Linked DNA regions of Homo sapiens: region 2 is linked to region 1. Evidence: promoter capture Hi-C in human tissues and cell types (Jung and others, 2019). All regions are on one chromosome and are shown on one strand. The core of a region is centred on a gene start or on the middle of the fragment in contact, and the rest is flanking DNA. Distances in the headings are between cores, read along the strand shown. Region 1 holds the start of ZNF839 (zinc finger protein 839). Region 2 has its middle 14 kb from the start of LINC02320.

Region 1 (5,385 bases), core at 1,533-4,032:
GAGGTCGGAAGTCGCGGCTGTGGCGAAGCGGAATGCAGCCAGCGGCGCCGGCCCGGCAGGGAGTCGCTAGGGGGCGGGCGCGGGCTTGGAGCCCTCTTAGGCGCTCCCGTGGGGGCCCAACGTCAGGCGGCCGGTTAGCTCAGTTGGTTAGAGCGTGGTGCTAATAACGCCAAGGTCGCGGGTTCGATCCCCGTACGGGCCAGGCTAACTTTTTTTTTTTTTTTTTGGTCCCCGCAATGTTCCTTTCTGATACTGTAACCGGCGTGCAGGCAGGAGAGAACTGCGGAATCTTTTGGACTGGCCCAGAGGTTATCCAAGGCTACCTGCTGGGGAGAGCGGGAGGAACTCAGAGCGCGCTGGGGCGGTGGCTCCTCACCCCGAGTCCCCGCGCCGCCACCTGAAGGGTCTGTTTTAGAATGCCATTGGTTAGGCCTTTTACTTTTGTCGTTTTAAAGGACACTCTGGACATCCAACCGATGCACATCCCACGCCCCCACCCCCCACGTTTCCTGAGGCTGCGTCTGGCCTGGAGGAACCGCCCAGTGAAGACAGGTGCTCGCAGATATCACCGCCTAGTGTTCCCTGGGCCCACTTGCGGGGAAGTCTTGGAGGTGAAAATCCAGGTCTGGAATGAATGCATTCCACAGATGCATATGGAGAGCTACTGCATGCCCAGCACCATTCCTAGGCTGGGAGCAAAACGGTGAGACACAAACCCCAACCCGCTGGAGACAGTGACCAGCCACTAGATGACTGCCATGTTTTTAGTGAGGCATTCAGGTTGTGGAAGCCTCTGGAAACCTTCTCTTGCTTTTTGTCCCCCCTCTTTTCTTTTCGGAGACATCTTAGGCTTCACATTTCTTCCTCTTGGTTCTACATTTTGAAGCCAGAGCAAGTGGATGAATTTCTCACTCGGTTCGTTTCTAGGGTGGTCAGGTGTGCTCAGCTGAACAAAAGCCGGTTGTATAAGGTTGATGCCATTTTATGTCAGGATCCGGCAAGGGCTCCACCTGTTTTTGAAAATTCTACAGTGGAAACAGCTACTAGTTCTGACCTAAATAAGAAGCAGCTCAACATCTACAGACCTTGGTATGTGCCCAGGGTGTAGTAAAAGTTCTCAATAAATGCCAGCCGATGGCGCTGCTGCTATTATAAGCAAAGTTAGGAGAGCCTGGGGCAGCTGACACTTAAAATAGACATCTGTACACAGGATGGATGTCACATCTTTTAATAGTCGTGCCAGGCACGTTGTTAGATGCAGGGACACAGCATGGAGGAATCGGTGGAGGTTGCTGCCCTCAAGTTTCCTGAGCTTGAAGGGGTTTAGAATATGCCACGGTGGCATGAAAATTATTTTGAGCAGAAGGCATGTGAATTCCTGAAATCTGGTCGGGTGTGGTGGCTCACACCTGTAATCTCAGCACTTGGGAAGGCCGAGGCGGGCGGATCACCTAAGGTCAGGGTTTCAAGACCAGCCTTACCAACATGATGAAACCCCGTCTCTACTAAAAATACAAAAATTAGCCAGGCATGGTGGCGGACGCCTGTAATCCCAGCTACTCAAGAGGCTGAGGCAGGAGAACCGCATGAACCCAGGCGATGGAGGTTGCGGTGAGCTGAGATTGTGCCACTGCACTCCAGCCTGGGTGACAGAGTGAGATCTTGTCTCAAAAAAAAAAAAAAATTGTGGTAAGATACCCATAATATAAAATTCACCATTAAAAAATAACACGGAAGGGATCATCGTGAATGCAATGTGAGTATTGATGAGGATGGTGGTGATCTTCCAGAACCTTCTCTGACGCCACCCAGGCCGCCAGCCTTACTTTACCGGCTTCGGCGCTCATCATACTGTGCTGCAAATGCCAGTTTCCTCCTTCCCCCTTGGGAAGTTTCCTCCTTGGGGGTCGGCACCTAGACTGTATACCCCCCAGGGCGGAAACAGCGGTTCACCCACCAGGTGCTTAAGAAGGGTTTGTGGACCAGTGGACCTCCTGCTCTCCCTGGGGAAAGGAGCTGGGACATGTGTACACACCTGCAGCTACAAGATTCGGAGGGCGCACAGAGCCTCAACCGTAAGAAGGAGAGGCGATCAGGCTGAGGAAGATGGGGCAGTGGAGCTGGATGGATAGAGAGAGGGTGGGTTCATTCATTCGTTCACTCATTCGTTTATTCATATTCATCCATCCATCATTCATGCCCTGAGCGTGCGTTGTGTTCTGGGCAGGGCCTGTGCTGGGCACCGATTGTGTAATATATCATCTCTCCCTTCAAGGTGCACCCAATCTGGGTGGGTGGGTAGAGAGAAGCTACGGTGACAAGGCAAAAATTTGGGAAACACTCTCGTTAACAATTCAAACTGTGGTCCCCTCCCAGATGTATAAATCCAAATGTTTAGGGGTGGGCACAGTACTCTGCATCTCCAGACAGCATCCTCCGCTGATTCGGATGCATGATGACGTCAGAACACTTGGATATTGTGGTAACTTTTGGGCCAGGGGCTCTGAAACCCCGAAGACCTCCCCCTGGGAGATCCGGGACAGCTCCCAGAGAAGGTGAGTCTTAAACACATCCGTGACAGGCAATAAGGAAAATAAGGGGGGTCCGCTCTGCTGATCAGCCCTAAGAGCCGCGGCGGTTGTCGGCTGGGGCGGGGCACTCCACGACTTTCCCGGCCAGACACGGTCGCCTTCCTAGGTGTCTTGGCCTGCGAGGCACTCGTAGCCCGCCCCTCTCCTAGGTGACGTACATTGGAGACGCCGTCGCTCAGCGACCCGGGTTCGAGTCCCCGCCTCGGCCGCCATGGCGGATGCGGAGCCGGAGGCTGGGGGCGGCAGCGAGGATGGCGGCGGCGGCGGCGGCCCGGCTCCTCCGGGCCAGAGCGGCAGCGTCGCACGTGTGGCCCCGCTGGGCCCCGAGCAGCTGCGGCAGGTCCTGGAGCAGGTGACGAAGGCGCAGCCGCCGCCGCCGCCGCCCCCCTTCGTGCTGCGGGACGCGGCGCGGCGGCTGCGGGACGCGGCCCAACAGGCCGCCCTGCAGCGGGGCCGGGGCACCGAGCCCCCGCGCCTGCCGCGCCTGCTCCCGCCCCAGGTGAGGCGTCGGGAGGGACGTGGGGAAACTGAGGCCCGAAGGGGGCCGACGCCCCGCGGCGGGGTAGCTGCTTGTCCGGGGAGGCCAGTATCCGCCCGGGTTAAGACTCAGGGCGTCCCCAGGCTGAGCTTCTTAGGGACGGCGTTCGGCCCCCACCTGTCACCACCCTGGCATTTTCACCCCAGGAGCCTCACTCTAGGAGCGGTTGCTCACGCTGGGCCCTGTGCCTGGAACGCCCTCGTGCCTTCTCTGCCTTCACAGCCCTGCTGGGGGCTTTTGCGTGCTCCCTAGCTCTTCTTACAGGCCTTTCACCGCTGGTTCAGCCTTTGTGGAGCACTTAGAGACCGTGTTCCCAGCACTCCCCACTATGTGCAGGAGGTGAAGCCTTGAACACACTTGCTGAAGAACGAACATAAGGCAGGTTCTGGGATTGACGGGGGCTGCTTTAGAGTGGGTGGTCCCGTAGGCCAGACACTGGAGCTGAAACATAAATGAATTAAAAGGAACCAACTTAGCTTTTCAGTTGTAAGGTGCCAAGGCCCAGGCTTGGAACAAAGTCAAGCACAATACACTAGTTCGCTGCAGGACTTAACATCCTGGGTGATAGTGACTGATTTGTAACCGCAGTACCCAGCACAGTGCCTGATACACAATGTTTGGAATATGTGAAAGCACTCTGTATACTACAAAACATCCTTTCCCAGTGGGTTTATTTCCTGGGCCACACACCTTTTGGTTGCTAGGGGGGTGATAACTAGAAGACGGTCGCCCAACTCCGGAGGGTGAAGCATAGCGCCTGAAGCCAGAGGGCCTACACGGCATCTGTAAAATTCCACCCCATTTCAGCGCTGGGGTTGTAAACAAAATTAGTCTCACCCCAAAATTGCCAAAAGAAGACAGCTTTTTCCACTAGAAGAAACGGGTTAGGGAATAGAATCAGGAACCTTCACTCGTTGAGTTTTTTTGACTGATGTTAGCTGCTTAGGGTTGTATCCAGTTAATCATCAAGACTGGAGAGTTGTCTTGCTAAGGTTTAGGAAGACCAGTGTGATTCTGTCCAGATGCCACACTATCACTATCTAGAGGTGTGACCTTGGGTAAGTCAACCTTTTTGGACTTTGGTCTGGGTCAGAAGGCTGCAAGGTGCCATCTGGGGGCAGCTATCTGCAAAGCCTCTGCTCTGCGCCCGGCGCTGTGCGGGGCCGCTCAGTTTTCAGCAGTGTTTTTGTACCGGCATTTTGCAGGTGGGAAACAAGCTCAGGGAGGTTGCGTGGCTTTGCCCAAGGTCCCTCAGGTGTGGCTGCTCTCCCTAGCCCCTGTACTCCTCACCATACCCTGCTGAATATGGCCACAGCTTTTTGGGTTTGGAATCCAAAAATGACATATTTTTCGTAAAGCAAAAGCAAACTTATTCGAGCTTAGGCAGCATGATGGGATTGTATTTTGTAGCTAATCTAATGGAGACGATATAAATTCTACCTGCAATAATATACCTTTGCAGCACATTCTTTTAATACTCTTTCAGCCCCAGCTGTGTCATGGAGGCCACAAAGGCAAACCGGATGCGTACTTTGCCCCTCAGTAGTTTATGAACTAACAGGAGATGAAACAAGACCCAGATAACTTCTAGTCAAGGCCAGAAAGCTAAAGATAGTGAAAAAGAACTGAATGTATTTAGAGAAAGGGAGATTGTTCCTGGCTGAGGACATCAGAAGCAGCTTTGTTGAAGAAGTGGTATCTGAACTAGATTTGAAAGGGTGCGTCTGAGTTGAAAATGCAGAAGGGGAGAGGCAGGTTCTGGGGCGGTTGGGGGTGCATTTCAACAACCACAGCAGAAGGCCCAGTGTTCGCTGTGGGGGTGGTGTGGATCAGCAGCACAGACCAATGGACACACTTGGGTCAGATCGAGGCCCCTGTCTCTCCCCATCCTCCCTCTTCCCCACCCCACAGAAATTTCCAGTTCCATCCAACATGCTGTGCCCCTTTTCATGCATCCGTGCATTTACACATGGATGTGTGCCCTTTTTCACCTGGCAAAAATTCCCAGCCTTCAAAATGCCCCTCAGAGATCACAGCTTCTGGGCAGCCCACCACCTCTGGGCTGTTCCTGCCTCTTGATTGCACCTGTTGTACCATGATGACATTTTTCCTGTCTGCCTCACCTGTCTGCATTCCTTAGGGAAGCTTGTCTGCCTTCAGAATCATCAGTGGAGCTTTTGAAAGGGCAGATCTTGGGGCCTCACCCCAGGAGATCCGATTCAGCAGGTCTGCGGGGACTGAGGTATGGCAGGGGAA
Region 2 (5,385 bases), core at 2,073-4,572, 570 kb before region 1:
TCCCTCAGTATCACGAGAACAGCATGGGGGAAGCTGCCCCCACAATCCAATCACCTCCCACCAGGTCCCTCCCTCAACATGTGGGGATTACAACTCAAGATGAGATTTGGGTGTGGACACAGAACCAAACCATATCAGTGCTATTGAAGGTGCCTGAGGAGGGATGTGGCATGATCCAGCCCATGTAGAGGACAGTAACTGGTAACCACAGGCAGAATTCATTACAGAAGGGAATCAGGTAAGAAATCATCAGAGATATGGGATCATTTAAAACAACTATTGATCCTCCAACTGGGTACACCAAAAGGGTAACTAGGATGATGCTATGAGGGAGGAAGATGAAACAAAAAAGCAGTTTCCCAGGTAGAAGCATCCATAAGGTCCAGGGCAGTGAGTTAAGGGTGCCACCACTTGCTCACAGTACGTTGAGTGAAACTCAGATGCAAAACTAGGTTTAGTATAATTACATATGTGTCAATGAAAAAAATGCATACAGGCTGGGCACAGTGGCTCACACTTGTAATCCCAGAACTTTGGGAGGCTGAGGTGGGTGGATCACTTGAGGTCAGCAGTTCAAGACCAGCCTGTGAGCATGGCCAACATGGTGAAACCCCATCTGTACTAAAAACACAAAAAATTAGCCAGGCGTGGTGGTGCACGCCTGTAATTCCAGCTACTCAGGAGGCTGAGACACTAGAATTGCTTGAACCCAGGAGCCTTTGCAATGAGCCAAGATCATGCCACTCCACTCCAGCCTGGGCAACAGAGCAAGACTGTCTCAAAAACAAAACAAAAAACAAATTTAAAAATGCATACGAAAAAGTGGAAACATATACACAAAATGAGAACAATAATTGCCTTTAGGAGATGGGATTATAAATTTTTTTAACTTTCCTTTCTCTTGTTTACCTGCACTTGCTAAGGTTTGTGCAGTAAATATTTTACTTTTGGAGTCAGTTAAGTTTTGAAAAAGGCAGAAAAAGCCCACAACTGTAACAGGTTCGTCCTCTCCGTAGCAAAGCTGATTCAAACAGCAGTCTTTGAACACAGTAGTATCACGCTGGTTGGTATCGTCTCGGTAGCAGAATGAGAACACAAAATCATCTAGGGCAATAGGAGCAGCAATGTGTAGCAGAGAAAATAGCCCAAGTCAAATTTATGTCCAGCCAAGACCACTAATGAAAGCTGAAAACTAGCATCCTTGCTTCCTCTGCCCACCCCATCCCATCCCACCTTCACATACATCCGCCCACACCCATTAGCCAGAGCATTCCTTTGATGGCCTAAGTTAGATGTCGTCTATGCCCCAGGGCCTTTGCACCAGCTGGTCCTCAGGTGCCAGTGCTCTCTCCCAGTGTCTCACGTGGCTGACTCCTTTGTCAGGTCCCAGTTCAAATTTACCTTCTCAGAGCAACCTTCCCTGACCATCGTAGCTAATATAGCCAACACCCTCTAGCAGGCACCCCATAGAGTCTAATCCAGCTTTGTCCATAGAATTTTCTGTGACAATAAGACTCTTCTGTGTCTATGCTGTCAACTCGCCACATGTGGCTATAAGCACTCAAAATACGGCTAGTGTTAATTAAACATGGAATTTTACATTTTATTTCATTTTTTATTATACATAAGTTCTAGGGTATATGTGCACAATGTACAGGTTTGTTACATAGGTATACATGTGCCATGTGGGTTTGCCGCACCCATTAACTCGTCATTTACATTAGGTATTTCTCCTAATGCTATCCCTCCCCCTGCCCTCCACCCCACGACAGGCCCTGGTTTGTGATGTTCCCCACCCTGTGTCCAAGTGTTCTCATTGTTCAATTCCCACCTATGAGTGAGAACATGCAGTGTTTGGTTTTCTGCCCTTGTGATAGTTTGCTCAGAATGATGGTTTCCAGCTTTATCCATGTCCCTGCAAAGGACACGAACTCATCCTTTTTTATGGCTGCATAGTATTCCATGGTGTATATGCGCCATTTTCTTAATCCAGTCTATCACTGATGGACATTTGGGTTGTTCCAAGTTTTCGTTATTGTGAATAGTGCCGCAATAAACATACGTGTGCATGTGTCTTTACAGTAGCATGATTTATAATCCTTTGGGTATATACCCAGTAATAGTATCTCTGGGCCAAATGGTATTTCTAGTTCTAGCTCCTTGAGGAATTGCCACACTGTCTTCCACAATGGTTGAACTAGTTTACACTCCACCAACAGTGTAAAAGCGTTCCTATTTCTCCACATCCTTTCCAGCATCTGTTGTTTCCTGACTTTTTAATGACTGCCATTCTAACTGGTGTGAGATGCTGTCTCACTGTGGTTTTGATTGCATTTGTCTGATGACCAGTGACGATGAACATTTTTTCATGTGTCTGTTGGCTGCATAAATGTCTTCTTTTGAGAAGTGTCTGTTCATATCCTTTGCCCACTTTTTGATGGGGTTGTTTTTTTTCTTGTAAATTTGTTTAAGTTCTTTGTAGATTCTGGATATGAGCCCTTTGTCAAATGGGTAGATTGCAAAAATTTTCTCCCATTCTGTAGGTGGCCTGTTCACTCTGATGGTAGTTTCTTTTGCTGTGCAGAAGCTGTTTAGTTTAATTAGATCCCATTTGTCTATTTTGGTTTTGTTGCCATTGCTTTTGGTGTTTTAGTCATGAAATTGCACATGCCTATGTCCTGAATGGTATTGCCTAGGTTTGCTTCTAGGGTTTTTATGGTTTTAGGTATAACATTTAAGTCTTTAATCCATCTTGAATTAATTTTTGTATAATGTGTAAGGAAGGGATCCAGTTTCAGCTTTTTACATATGGCTAGCTAGTTTTCCCAGCACCATTTATTAAATAGGGAATCCTTTCCCCATTTCTTGTTTTTGTTGGTTTGTCAAAGATCAGATGGTTGTAGATGTGTGGTGTTATTTCTGAGGCCTCTGTTCTGTTCCATTGGTCTATCTCTCTGTTTTAGTACCAGTACCATGCTGTTTTGGTTACTGTAGCCTTGTAGTATAGCTTGAAGTCAGGTAGCGTGATGCCTCCAGATTTGTTCTTTTGGCTTAGGATTGTCTTGGCAATGCAGGCTCTTTTTTGGTTCCATATGAACTTTAAAGTAGTTTTTTCCAATTCTGTGAAGAAAGTCATTGGTAGCTTGATGGGGATGGCATTGAATCTATAAATTACTTTGGGCAGTATGGCCATTTTCACGATATTGATTCTTCCAACCCATGAGCATGGAATGTTGTTCCATTTGTTTGTATTCTCTTTATTTCCTTGAGCAGTGGTTTGTAGTTCTCCTTGAAGAGGTCCTTCACATCCTTTGTAAGTTGGATTCCTAGGTATTTTATTCTCTTTGTAGCAGTTGTGAATGGGAGTTCACTCATGATTTGGCTCTCTGTTTGTGTGTTAATGGTGTATAGGAATGCTTGTGATTTTTGCACACTGATTTTGTATCCTGAGACTTTGCTGAAGTTGCTTATCAGCTTAAGGAGATTTTGGGCTGAGAACAGTGGGGTTTTCTAAATATACAATCATGTCATCTGCAAACAGGGACAATTTGACTTCCTCTTTTCCTAATTGAATACCCTTTATTTCTTTCTCTTGCCTGACTGTCCTGGCCAGAACTTCCAACACTGTGTTGAATAGGAGTGGTGAGAGAGGGCATCCCTGTCTTGTGCCACTTTTCAAAGGGAATGCTTCCAGTTTTTGCCCGTTCAGTATGATATTGGCCGTGGGTTTGTCATAAATAGCTCTTATTATTTTGAGATACATTCCATCAATACCTAATTTATTGAGAGTTTTTAGGATGAATGGTTGTTGGATTTTGTCAAAGGCCTTTTCTGCATCTATTGAGATAATCATGTGGTTTTTGTCATTGGTTCTGTTTATGTGATGGATTGCATATATTGATTTGCATATGTTGAACCAGCCTTGCATCCCAGGGATGAAGCTGACTTGATCGTGGTAGATAAGCTTCTTGATGTGCTGCTGGATTCAGTTTGCCAGTATTTTATTGAGAATTTTCACATCGATGTTCATCAGGGATATTGGTCTAAAATTGCCTTTTTTGTTGTGTCTCTGCCAGGCTTTGGTATCAGGATGATGTTGGCCTCATAAAATGATTTAGGGAGGATTCCCTCTTTTTCTATTGATTGGAATCGTTTCAGAAGGAATGGTACCAGCTCCTCTTTGTACCTCTGGTAGAATTCAGCTGTGAATCTATCTGGTCCTGGACTTTTTTTGGTTGGTAGGCTATTAATTATTGCCTCAATTTCAGAGCCTGTTATTGGTCTATTCAGAGATTCAACTTCTTCCTGGTTTGGTCTTGGGAGGGTGTATGTGTCCAGGAATTTATCCATTTCTTCTAGATTTTCTAGTTTATTCTCTGATGGTAGTTTGTATTTCTGTGGGATCTGTGGTGATATCCCCTTTATCATTTTGTATTGCATCTATTTGATTCTTCTCTCTTTTCTTCTTTATTAGTCTTGCTAGTGGTCTATCAATTTTGTTGATCTTTTCAAAAAACCAGCTCCTGGATTCATTGATTTTTTGAAGGTTTTTTTGTGTCTCTATCTACTTCAGTTCTGCTCTGATCTTAGTTATTTCTTGCCTTCTGCTAGCTTTTGAAGTTTGCTCTTGCTTCTCTAGTTCTTTTAATTGAGATGTTAGGGTGTTGATTTTAGATCTTTCCTCTTTCTCTTGTGGGAATTTAGTGTTAAAAATTTCCCTCTACACACTGCTTTAAATGTGTCCCAGAGATTCTGGTACATTGTGTCTTTGTTCTCATTGGTTTCAAAGAACATCTTTATTTCTGCCTTCATTTCATTATTTACCCAGTAGTCATTCAGGAGCAGGTTGTTCAGTTTCCATGTAGTTGTGTGGTTTTGAGTGAATTTCTTAATCCTGAGTTCTAATTTGATTGCACTGTAGTCTAAGAAACAGTTTGTTGTGATTTCTATTCTTTTACATTTGCTGAGGAGTGCTTTACTTCCAACTATGTGGTCAGTTTTGGAATAACTGTGATGTGGTGCTGAGAAAAATGTATATTCTGTTGATTTGAGGGGAGAGTTCTGTAGATGTCTATTAGGTCTGCTTGGTGCAGAGCTGAGTTCAAGTCCTGGATATCGCTGTTAACCTTCTGTCTCATTGATCTGTCTAATATTGACAGTGGGGTGTTAAAGTCTCCCATTATTATTGTGTGGGAGTCTAAGTCTCTTTGTAGGTCTCTAAGGACTTGCTTTATGAATCTGAGTGCTACTGTATTGGGTGCATATATATATTTAGGATAGCTCTTCTTGTTGAATTGAATTGATCCCTTTACTATTATGTAATGGCCTTCTTTGTCTCTTTTGATCTTTGTTGGTTTCAAATCTGTTTTATCAGAGACGAGGATT

What was found. The method cuts DNA at HindIII sites, captures the fragments that hold promoters and counts their contacts. A contact is called where the count stands out against the background at its distance.
Region 2: a fragment that was not itself captured here is called in contact with the fragment with the promoter of ZNF839 in region 1 in 2 of the 25 tissues and cell types used here (ovary and spleen).

What each region holds. Positions count from the first base shown.
Region 1 is chr14:102,316,964-102,322,348 of GRCh38, forward strand. ZNF839 (zinc finger protein 839) reads left to right here and starts at 2,783. Exons shown (of 8, transcript NM_018335.6): 1 at 2,783-3,090. The coding sequence starts at 2,803. TRI-AAT5-4 (tRNA-Ile (anticodon AAT) 5-4) reads left to right here and starts at 129; the gene lies at 129-202. RefSeq lists silencers at 2,843-2,942, 3,003-3,192 and an enhancer at 3,293-3,402. The HindIII fragment of the contact is 9,233 bases long and covers 1-5,385 here.
Region 2 is chr14:101,742,632-101,748,016 of GRCh38, forward strand. No RefSeq gene overlaps it. Among named protein-coding and RNA genes, the nearest start is that of LINC02320, 14 kb to the left of the region's middle. The HindIII fragment of the contact is 7,602 bases long and covers 1-5,385 here.